Linked DNA regions of Homo sapiens: region 1 is linked to region 2. Evidence: promoter capture Hi-C in human tissues and cell types (Jung and others, 2019). All regions are on one chromosome and are shown on one strand. Each heading gives the region's core, a stretch centred on a gene start or on the middle of the fragment in contact. The rest is flanking DNA. Distances are from core to core; before and after follow the strand shown. Region 1 holds the start of CD200 (CD200 molecule). Region 2 holds the start of SLC9C1 (solute carrier family 9 member C1).

Evidence for each region. The method cuts DNA at HindIII sites, captures the fragments that hold promoters and counts their contacts. A contact is called where the count stands out against the background at its distance.
Region 1: a contact is called between the fragment with the promoter of CD200 here and the fragment with the promoter of SLC9C1 in region 2, in 1 of the 25 tissues and cell types used here (neural progenitor cells).

Annotation. Positions count from the first base shown.
Region 1 is chr3:112,331,240-112,335,872 of GRCh38, forward strand. It overlaps CD200 (CD200 molecule), which reads left to right and starts at 1,917. Exons shown (of 6, transcript NM_005944.7): 1 at 1,917-1,985. The coding sequence starts at 1,974. It overlaps LOC105374042 (a long non-coding RNA gene), which reads left to right. Exons shown (of 5, transcript NR_147411.1): 5 at 947-1,515. RefSeq lists enhancers at 1,584-2,541, 2,542-3,498, 3,995-4,633. The HindIII fragment of the contact is 7,249 bases long and covers 1-4,633 here.
Region 2 is chr3:112,291,883-112,296,570 of GRCh38, forward strand. It overlaps SLC9C1 (solute carrier family 9 member C1), which reads right to left and starts at 2,334. Exons shown (of 29, transcript NM_183061.3): 1 at 2,211-2,334. The HindIII fragment of the contact is 5,534 bases long and covers 1-4,407 here.

The DNA of each region.
Region 1 (4,633 bases), core at 667-3,166, 39 kb after region 2:
GAAGAATAGATAAATAAATTGTAATAGACAGTATTTACAGAATAGGATACTATACATCAGTGAGAATGAATAAGCCACACTACAGGCAATAACATGGATGGATTTTTAAAATCTACTGTTGAGTAAAAAACCCAGAAACAAGTGAAGACATATGCTACGATGCCATTCATATAAAATTCAAAATCAGGTGAGCCTAGTCTATGGTGTTAGAAGTAGGAGAATAGGGGCCGGGCGCGGTGGCTCACGCCTGTAATTCCCACAACTTTGGGAGGCTGAGACGGGCGAATCATGAAGTCAGGAGATCGAGACCATCCTGGCTAAACGGTGAAACCCCGTCTCTACTAAAAATACAAAAAAAATTAGCCGGGCGTGGTGGCGGGCGCCTGTAGTCCCAGCTACTTCGGAGGCTGAGGCAGGAGAATGGCGTGAACCCAGGAGGCAGAGCTTGCAGTGAGCCGAGATCGCGCCACTGCACTCCAGCCTGGACGACAGAGCGAGACTCCGCCCCCGTCTCCCACCGCCCCCCCCCCAAAAAAAGAAGTGGGAGAATAGGTCAGGTGCAGTGGTTCATGCCTGTAATCCCACTGCTTTGGGAGGCAAAGGTAGAAGGAGCATTTGAGGCTAGGAATTTCAGGCCAGCCTGGGCAACACAAGACCCCGTGTCTGGAAAAAAAAAAAAAGCTGGACATAGTGGCTGCACAACTATCATTCTAGCTACTCTAGAGGCTGAGGTGAGAGGATCCCTTGAGCCCAGGAGTGAGTTATGATCGCACCACTGCATTCCAGCTTGGACAACAGAGCGAGACTTTGTCTGTAAAAAGAAGCAAAAACAAAACCCCAAAGCTTTGTCCCAGCTCCTTATGAGAGGGTGGTAGTAGTAAAACACAAAAGCCTTCAGGAGGTGAACACTTGATGATTTCTTTGTCCTTTTTTTTTTTTTTTTAAGAGCCAAGAACTCTGGAACAAGAAGAAGAAGACGAAGGAGGAGGAGGAGGGGGAGGGGGAGGAGGAGAAGGAGAAGGAGGAGAAGGAGAAGGAGAAGGAGACGGAGAAGGAGGAAGAGGAGGAGGAGGGCCGGGCGCAGTGGCTCACGCCTGTAATCCCAGCATTTTGGGAGGCCGAGGCGGGCGGATCACGAGGTCAAGAGACCGAGACCATCCTGGCTAACATGGTGAAACCCCGTCTCTACTAAAAATACAAAAAATTAGCCGGGCATGGTGGCGGGCGTCTGTAGTCCCAGCTACTCGGGAGGCTGAGGCAGGAGAATGGCGGGAACCCGGGAGGCGGAGCTTGTAGTGAGCCAAGATAGCGCCACTGCACTCCAGCCTGGACCACAGAGCGAGACTCCGTCTCAAGAAGAAGAAGAAGGAGAAGAAGGAGAAGGAGAAGGGAAAAAAGAATCCTCATCATTAATGCAAGTGGAAGGAAACTCTTCACCAAAGAATTGATCACATCATGAAAGGTGAAATCATTACGGAATTGCTTAAATATATAATTTGAATCTGGATTTAAAAATAATAAATGTAAGTTTTTTCTTTAAAAAAAAAAAAAAGTCCATTGGTTAAATTCAGCTTGAATCCTTTGCCACTACATCAAGAGCTAACAGGTCAACAACTGATCTCCACAACCTCCCACCTCATTTCCTTTCTCAGTCCAGGTAGCAGGAAAATGGAAAAAAAAAAATGATTTTTTTTTTCCAAACACTTTGTCAGTTTCCCCAGCGGTCACCTTTGAAAAGGGAAAAATGTCTGAAAATAGACAAAGCTGAATATAAACATCATTTAATTCCCCCCACACAGACAGCCTCCGCTCCTGTGAGGGCGTGGGGAAAACGGAGTGGGAGAAGGGGGCTAGCGAGGAGGAAGAGGCGGGAGGTGCGGCAGGGGCACAGGTGACGCTCCTCCCGCCTGCCTAGCAGAGCTCCAGGCGCACATCCGCAGTCAGCCACCTCGCGCGCGCCTCCAGGAGCAAGGATGGAGAGGCTGGTGAGCGGGGCCGGGGCTTGGGAAGGAGGGCGCAGGGCAGGCGATGTTGAGCCGGTGGCCCTGGGGCGGGCGGCGAGTGGAAGGCGCGGAGCTTCGGCTCTTGCCACAATCTGGTCCGGGGACTAGATCAGCGGTGTTGATGGCAGCGCTTTTCTCTAAGCGCTTTCTCTTGCTGAGAAACGGATTTTGCCTTCCAAAGGGTGGTTTACAGGCAGCTGCTGGCGTCCAGATTCTCCATTCCAATTGCCTGAAAAAAAGATGCACCAGGCCGGGGCTCCGGGGGCTCTTGATCCGCGCTGACGAAGCTGGCGCATCCTCCGGGCAGGCTCGGCTCGGCTCACTGGCTCCAGCTCCCAAAACTGGGGAGGCACAGCCTATTTTAAACTGCCCCCAAAAGGGAAAGAGAAATGCTGTATTGGTTCCATATTGGCACCAAAAGCTGCGGCGGAGATACAGATTTCCAGGCTCGCTTTCTCCGGGAGAGCTCCTGCGTCTCCTCTTTGTTATGCAGCCCCTTTCTCCCTCCTAGCCCTTGCCTGGGGGAAGCCATGAAGGATCAGTTAAAGCTGAAGCTACACTTGAGAGAGCTGAAATGCTCTGTGATCATAATGCTTTGAAGGGTTAACCCCGGGTATCTAGAGAAACAGACATTTTGTTTATTCGGAACCAGCTTACAAGACAAAAAACGGAGAAGGTTTTCATATATCCCATTGGTATATGAAATCCAAATACAATGGTATTGGTATAAGAATCCAAATACAGTGAATGCCTCAAGATAATTTTTTCATGTATGGTTTGTTGGCAAGACCACATAGCCAATGATTTCACTGTCTTTCTTAACAAAGGAGAATGGTGGTCTGTGAGCTACGGTCTACTGCAAGCTAGATGCTGTTAATCTTCTTTGTAACTATCCTTCTAAAAATGAATTATTACCTCGTTTTACACATAAACAGGCGGAAAGGCTGATATTTCCAAGTCCTTGTGACTACATGTGGGGTAATGTGGATTTGGACATAGAAACTTGCTGAGGAAGAGGCATGAATAGGGGCAATATAGCTACCAGGTGGGCAGCTGTCTGGTAAGACCCAGGTTTTTGTGAACCCTGGACTGCATGGCAAGGGTTATAAGTGGGCTTCTTTGTTTTCAGGACTGTAGTTCCCCCTATATGATTTGATCGATTAATTTTTTTAGCTACCTAACACGTATTGGCATTTACTATAACCTAGGCTCTATACTAAGTGCTTTAATTGCCTAATTCTCATAATAACTATGTGAGATAAGAGCAACATTTATTTAGTGCTTATTTCTACTGGCAGTATTCTAGGAGCTTTATATACTACTTCATTTAGTCTTTTTAACCATTAGATTGGTACTATTACTTTTCCGGAGTCTCAGAGAGGTAAAATGATTTCTTTTGCTCACAAATCTAGTATTTGTTTTAGCCCCGGTCACCTCCCTGTAAACATATAAATACTGTTGTTTTCAGATTGGTCGTATTTTCAGTTATTCTGCACAGACTCGAGGAAAAAAAAAACCTGTAAAATAAAAATACGTATCTATTTAAGAGTAAGGCTTTCCTTCTGATTTCCTTTGCCTCAATCACTGTGTTTTGTTTCTTAACATTGCTGGCTCCCAGTCCACAATATATGGTTTGGTATGTATCTGCTTTCTCTCTTGTCCTAAAACACAGATTTTCTCTATGAGAGCTTGTCCATTCTGCATTCTTCATCATGGCCTCTGGTAGAGCCTGGATTTCCACGTCAGAGAAGCCTAATGGTTTAAAAAATATCACATAGAATTGGAATGCCAGTATCTGTCTCCACAATTGCCTTAGCTGAAAATAAAACAAAATGTGTTGGGTGGGCACTGGCAATGGAGCCTGAGGAAATATTTGGCCTGATTTTTTCTGACTTTCCTAGATAATTAGATAGGATGGAACAGTCTCAGTAATACTGAGAAAATTATCGAGTTATATATTTTTTTTCACTTCAAAACCAAAGCCTTTGTGAGTATAATACCCAGCAGTGGATGGGCAGGGTGAGCAGATCTTTGTAGGCTGTATGTATTCAGGCAGCTGAACCATCTTGGGTTTCTCAAAGAGCAGTGACTATGTTATTAGTCTTAGACCTATGAAGACAGGAAGAGAAGTCACAAGGAAGGGATAGCATGCTTATGGTATGCTTGGGTATCGAATAATAAAATATATCTGCAAAGAATAATTTGTCCTAATGGCACCTTCAGATGATATAATCTTGAATTCTCTGTAGCCTTAGAGATGTAAGGAAAAAGCAACTTACATCACAAAGATCAGTATTACTGTGTACTATGATGCCACTGCATGGGGTCCAGGATGAGAGTCTAAGTGATTGGTTCTCTCTAGCTGAAGACAAGAAGACACTCAGGTATGTGGCAGCACTTGGGATAGGCCACAGGGCGGCGAGACATCATTCCTTCCAGGACATCTATCCTGAAAGATCCATCAGGAATACTGTGATGGAGATAGTGATGGAGACTCCTTGTCTCTGGCAGTTAGAGTGAATGCTGAAGAAGAGCCCTTTTCCAGCAGGCCAGTCTCTAACATGATCTTGGGTCTTCACCCAGACCATGACAGCTCTGGTGCTCAACACACACAACCACCTCCAGGGTAC
Region 2 (4,688 bases), core at 1,084-3,583:
GTAGACTAGATAAACTAAATGTGGCACATATACACCATGAAATACTATGCAGCCATAAAAAAGAATGAGATCATGTCCTTTGTAGGAACATGGATGGAGCTGGAAGCCACTATTCTTAGCAAACTAATGCAGGAACAGAAAACCAAATACTGCATGTTCTCACTTATAAGTGGAAGCTAAATATTCAGAACACGTGGACACATAGAGGGGAATACACTGGGGCCTACTTGAGGGTAGATGGTGGGAGGAGAGAGAGGATCAGGAAAAATAACTAATGGGTGCCAGGCTTAATAGCTGGGTGATTAAATAATTTGTACAACAAATCTCCATGACATGAATTTACCCATATAACAAACCTGCACATGTATCCCAGAACATGAAAGTTAAATTATAATCACATTAATAATAATAAAATTACCACGAATCCTGTTTACTCTTAAATTCAGAGATATATATGATCAAATTCAACACAATTTATCTCTCTGGCTATGCATATGTGATAAATACCATTTGGCTTCCCCAACCTCTACTCCAAAATCTCATAAGAAATCTCTATTTGAGAATAGATGTCATCTTAAAATAGTTTTAAAAATACTAACATTACTGTAGCTTAATATGTTAAATGTATGGGTAAGGAAATAGCTATGAGAATAAACAGGTTTTCTTTTTTTTGTTTTTTGAGACGGAGTCATGATCTGTCGCCCAGGCTGGAGTGCAGTGGTGCGATCTCGGCTCACTGCAAGCTCTGCCTCCCGGGTTCACACCATTCTCCTGCCTCAGCCTCCCGAGTAGCTGGGACTACAGGCGCCAGCCACCACGCCCGGCTAATTTTTTGTATTTTTAGTAGAGACGGGGTTTCACTGTGTTAGCCAGGATGGTCTCGATCTCCTGACCTTGTGATCTGCCCGCCTCGGCCTCCCAAAGTGCTGGGATTACAGGCGTGAGCCACCACGCCCGGCCACAGGTTTTCAATATAATTAGAACTCTTCATCTTAAGCTGACTTTTGACAGCTTTGTAAAAGTCTGTGAGTCCAAATCCCATTAAAGAAAAAAATATTGGTTTATCACATAGGTCCTCTGCATTAATTTAACAATAAGTTAGTTGACTGAGCACAGTGGCTCACGCCTGTAATCCCAGCACTTTGGGAGGCCTAGGCGGGTGGATCACTTGAGATCAGGAGTTCGAGACTAGCCTGGCCAAAATAGTGAAACTGTCTCTACTAAAAATACAAAAAAAAAAAAAAAAAAATTAGCCAGGTGTGGTGGCACATGCCTGTAATCCCAACTACTTGGGAGGCTGAGACAGGAGAATCAATTGAAGAGGCAGAGATTGCAGTGAGCCTAGATTGTGCCACTGCACTCCAGCTTGGGTGACAGAGTGAGACTCTATTTCAAATATATATATATATATATATCTCTCATGTTAGCTAATATCTCAATTCTCTTTGTGTGTGGAGGAAATTAATGACTGCCCTCTCAAAAATGACATGAATTTGTCCTTGTCAGTCAGCCAGCATTGAGAAATTTTGTCTCATGAACCGTAAGTCACACTAATTTACCATGTTACTGAACATGGAAACAGTCTTCTTCCTTCAGATTGGAACGTTTTGCAAGAATTAGGTGAAGAAAGCATCCTGAAGAGGGCACTGTGGGATCTCAGTAATCTTCACAGCTACAAAGCTCATGCTTAATGGTTTATTTTATATTGATACCAGAGGCTGGATTGTCTCCTTAGTAAACTCTCCTACCACACAACGCAGACATCTTACTGACTCTGAAGGTGGGTGGGCTATTGCCCTCCTAATGCCCCTCCACTCAGAATGAGCCCTTCCTCCAGCTCAAGATCAGCTCCACACACCTGAGGCGATTCCCTGAACCAGTGAGCTTTCCCCTAGGGCTGGACTTTTCAGTTTCAGTAACGCAAAGGGAACACATGCCACTGGATAGTTCACAAAGAGTTGATGTAAAAAGCATAATGGAGGAGGGGAAGCAGCTAAGGGGTAGAAGTTCAAACCGAGAAGCTAGCTGATCTTTGGGAAAGTGTTCCATGGTCTGCCACAAGAAAGGCAGAAGCGCCAAGAGGGAGTGGCTGAATCTCTAGCAGGAAAACAGTGGGAGCCTTTGTTCATCTAGGAGGCGAGACTGAGAGAGAAAGTACCAGTAGGAAAGGTCAACTTCCAGAAAAGGAAACTAGAGACTGGAGAGCTCACCATCCGGAGCCTCAGGAGGAGTATCCCGTGGTGTGCAAGTGAGAAGTGGGGGGCAGCTATTTCGCTCACAGCCAAACAGCCCAGACCAACTGCAACCTCACTGACAGTTACTTGCTCCAAACTCGCCCCTAGTCTGCACCGGTTAGCTTCAGGCCCATCATCTCTTACTTGATTGGCTGATGAAATGCAACGTCATTGCTCCTGTATATCTCAGGCATTTGACGGCTTAAGGCTTTGTTTTATTTTTTAAAAATAAACAAATAAGGGGTGAAAATGAACCTACAGAAATTGCGCCATTGTGTTAATTTAAGACTTTGGGACAGTGGATTTCTGACAAAGAGCTGTTGGACACTGCTTTCCCAGAATTCTAGTAAAAGGAAGTTTCCTGGATAAGATAGTGTGGTAGAGATATGAGGACGCAGGTTGCTGGGTTAGGGAAAAAGTGAATGGATATTGTGGGCATGTAAGAGAATGAAATCAAGATGACAAGGTGAACTTTCACTCTGGGTTATATGTGAGGAAATTTTCAGGAATAATGATATACTCATTTGTTTTTTCTAAACATAATATGTAAAAAATATTTTAATTGAAATTACTTAGTTATTACTATAGAGCCAACTTTTCACATTCCTACTCTCATAAAATATCTTAAAGTTATTTAAAATTGTATTTAATGTTTTGTTCTCTGTGTTTCATCTCTTTCTCCCGACCCACACGTTTATAAGTGAATGGTGGTAAAATTCCCAACTCTTCATTTGGCCTCCTCTGATACTACCCTGATGAAGAAGGCAGGAGGCAACTTGTTTGGCTGGGTTGGAGCAGAAGTCCAGGCTCCCTACATGGTCTCCAACTGAGGCATGGGGTGCATCTTTATGGCCTGGTTGTTATGGAAGTTCCAGCTCCCACAAGGCCTTTTCTGATACTGCTCTGGTTGGGGTGGGGAAACAGGCAGGGTTCTGGCATCTTGTATGGTATGGGTGAAGTTTAAGCTTCCTACTCAGTCTTTGCTGGTATGTGGGTACAGGGAGTGGGTGAACACTTTTCTGTGGTGTTTGGTTAAAGTAGAGCAGTTACTGGTGAAATTTTCTGTCTTGCTGGGCTGCCCCTTTTCTTGGGTCTTTAAAAAATCTATTCTCGGCCAGGTGCAGTGGCTCATGCCTGTAATCCCAGCACTTTGGGAGGCCGAGGCAGGTGGATCACCTGAGGTCAGGAGTTCGAGACCAGCCTGACCAACAAGGTGAAACCCCGTCTCTACTAAAAATACAAAAATTAGCCGGGCATGGTGGCAGGCGCCTATAGTCCTAGCTCCGGGAGGCTAAGAAAGGAGAATCACTTGAACCCGGGAGATGGAGGTTGCAGTGAGCCGAGATTGCGCCACTGCACTCCAGCCTGGGAGACAGGGTGAGACACCGTTTCAAAAAAAAAAAAAAAGGATTCTCATTGTTGGAAATACATGCCACATATCTGTGTGTGGGTTGTGGTTCATGTGTGGATATATATTTAAAAATTAATTAAGTTGCAAAGCTAATATTTGCCACATTATGTATTTGTTTATATACATATGTCTTGCTAAGTTTATATATATATATATATATATATATATATAAATAAAACAGGAAATGTAAATGTTGTCTAATATTTCTCTTTAGCAATATACTCTAATGACCACACACTGGACATCCTTGTAATCCAGAATCATTCACCTTTTTTTTCCAAGAGATGGGATCTCACTCTGTCACTCAGGCTGGAAGGTAGTGGTATGACCATAGCTCCCTGCTACCTTAAACTTCTGGGCTCAAGCAGTCCTCACACCTGAACCTCCCAAGTATTTGGGTGAATACTTCTACAGGCATGTCACCACACCTAATTTTTTAATTCTTTTTGTAGAGATGGAGTCTTGCTATGTTGCCCAGGCTGGTCTCAAACTCCTGGCCTCAAGCCATCCTCTCCTCAGCCTCCCAAAGTCCTGGGATTATAGGCATAAGCCACCTCCCATGGTATCAGTGGAGACCATGCAGGGAGCAGTAATAGGACACCCTTCTCTTTCCCATCCAGGGGGCTATCATCAGAGACCTAGTGAAGAGCCTGAAGCCCCACTCCTACCTAAGCAGTAAGAAGACACCCCTTCTTCGGCTGTGTGTCAATGAAGACTGAGTAGAGAACTTGAGCTTTTATTCCAACTTGCCTACAAGAGGTGACCCCACTTCTCCTGCCAGAACAGTGTCAGAGGATGCCTGGTAAAACCCAGGATTTAAATAAGATCCAGTATCTTATAATATCTGCAATGTCCAAATAGAAATTGAAAATCGCTCATCATACCAAGAACCAAGGTGATCCCAACTTGAATGAGAATGGACAATAAAAGACACCAACCCTAAGATTACAAAAATGTTAGAATTATCTAAAAAGGATTTTAACATAGCCATCATAAAAATATTTCAGCAAATGCTAATAATTATGAACAGTATTGAAATAGAT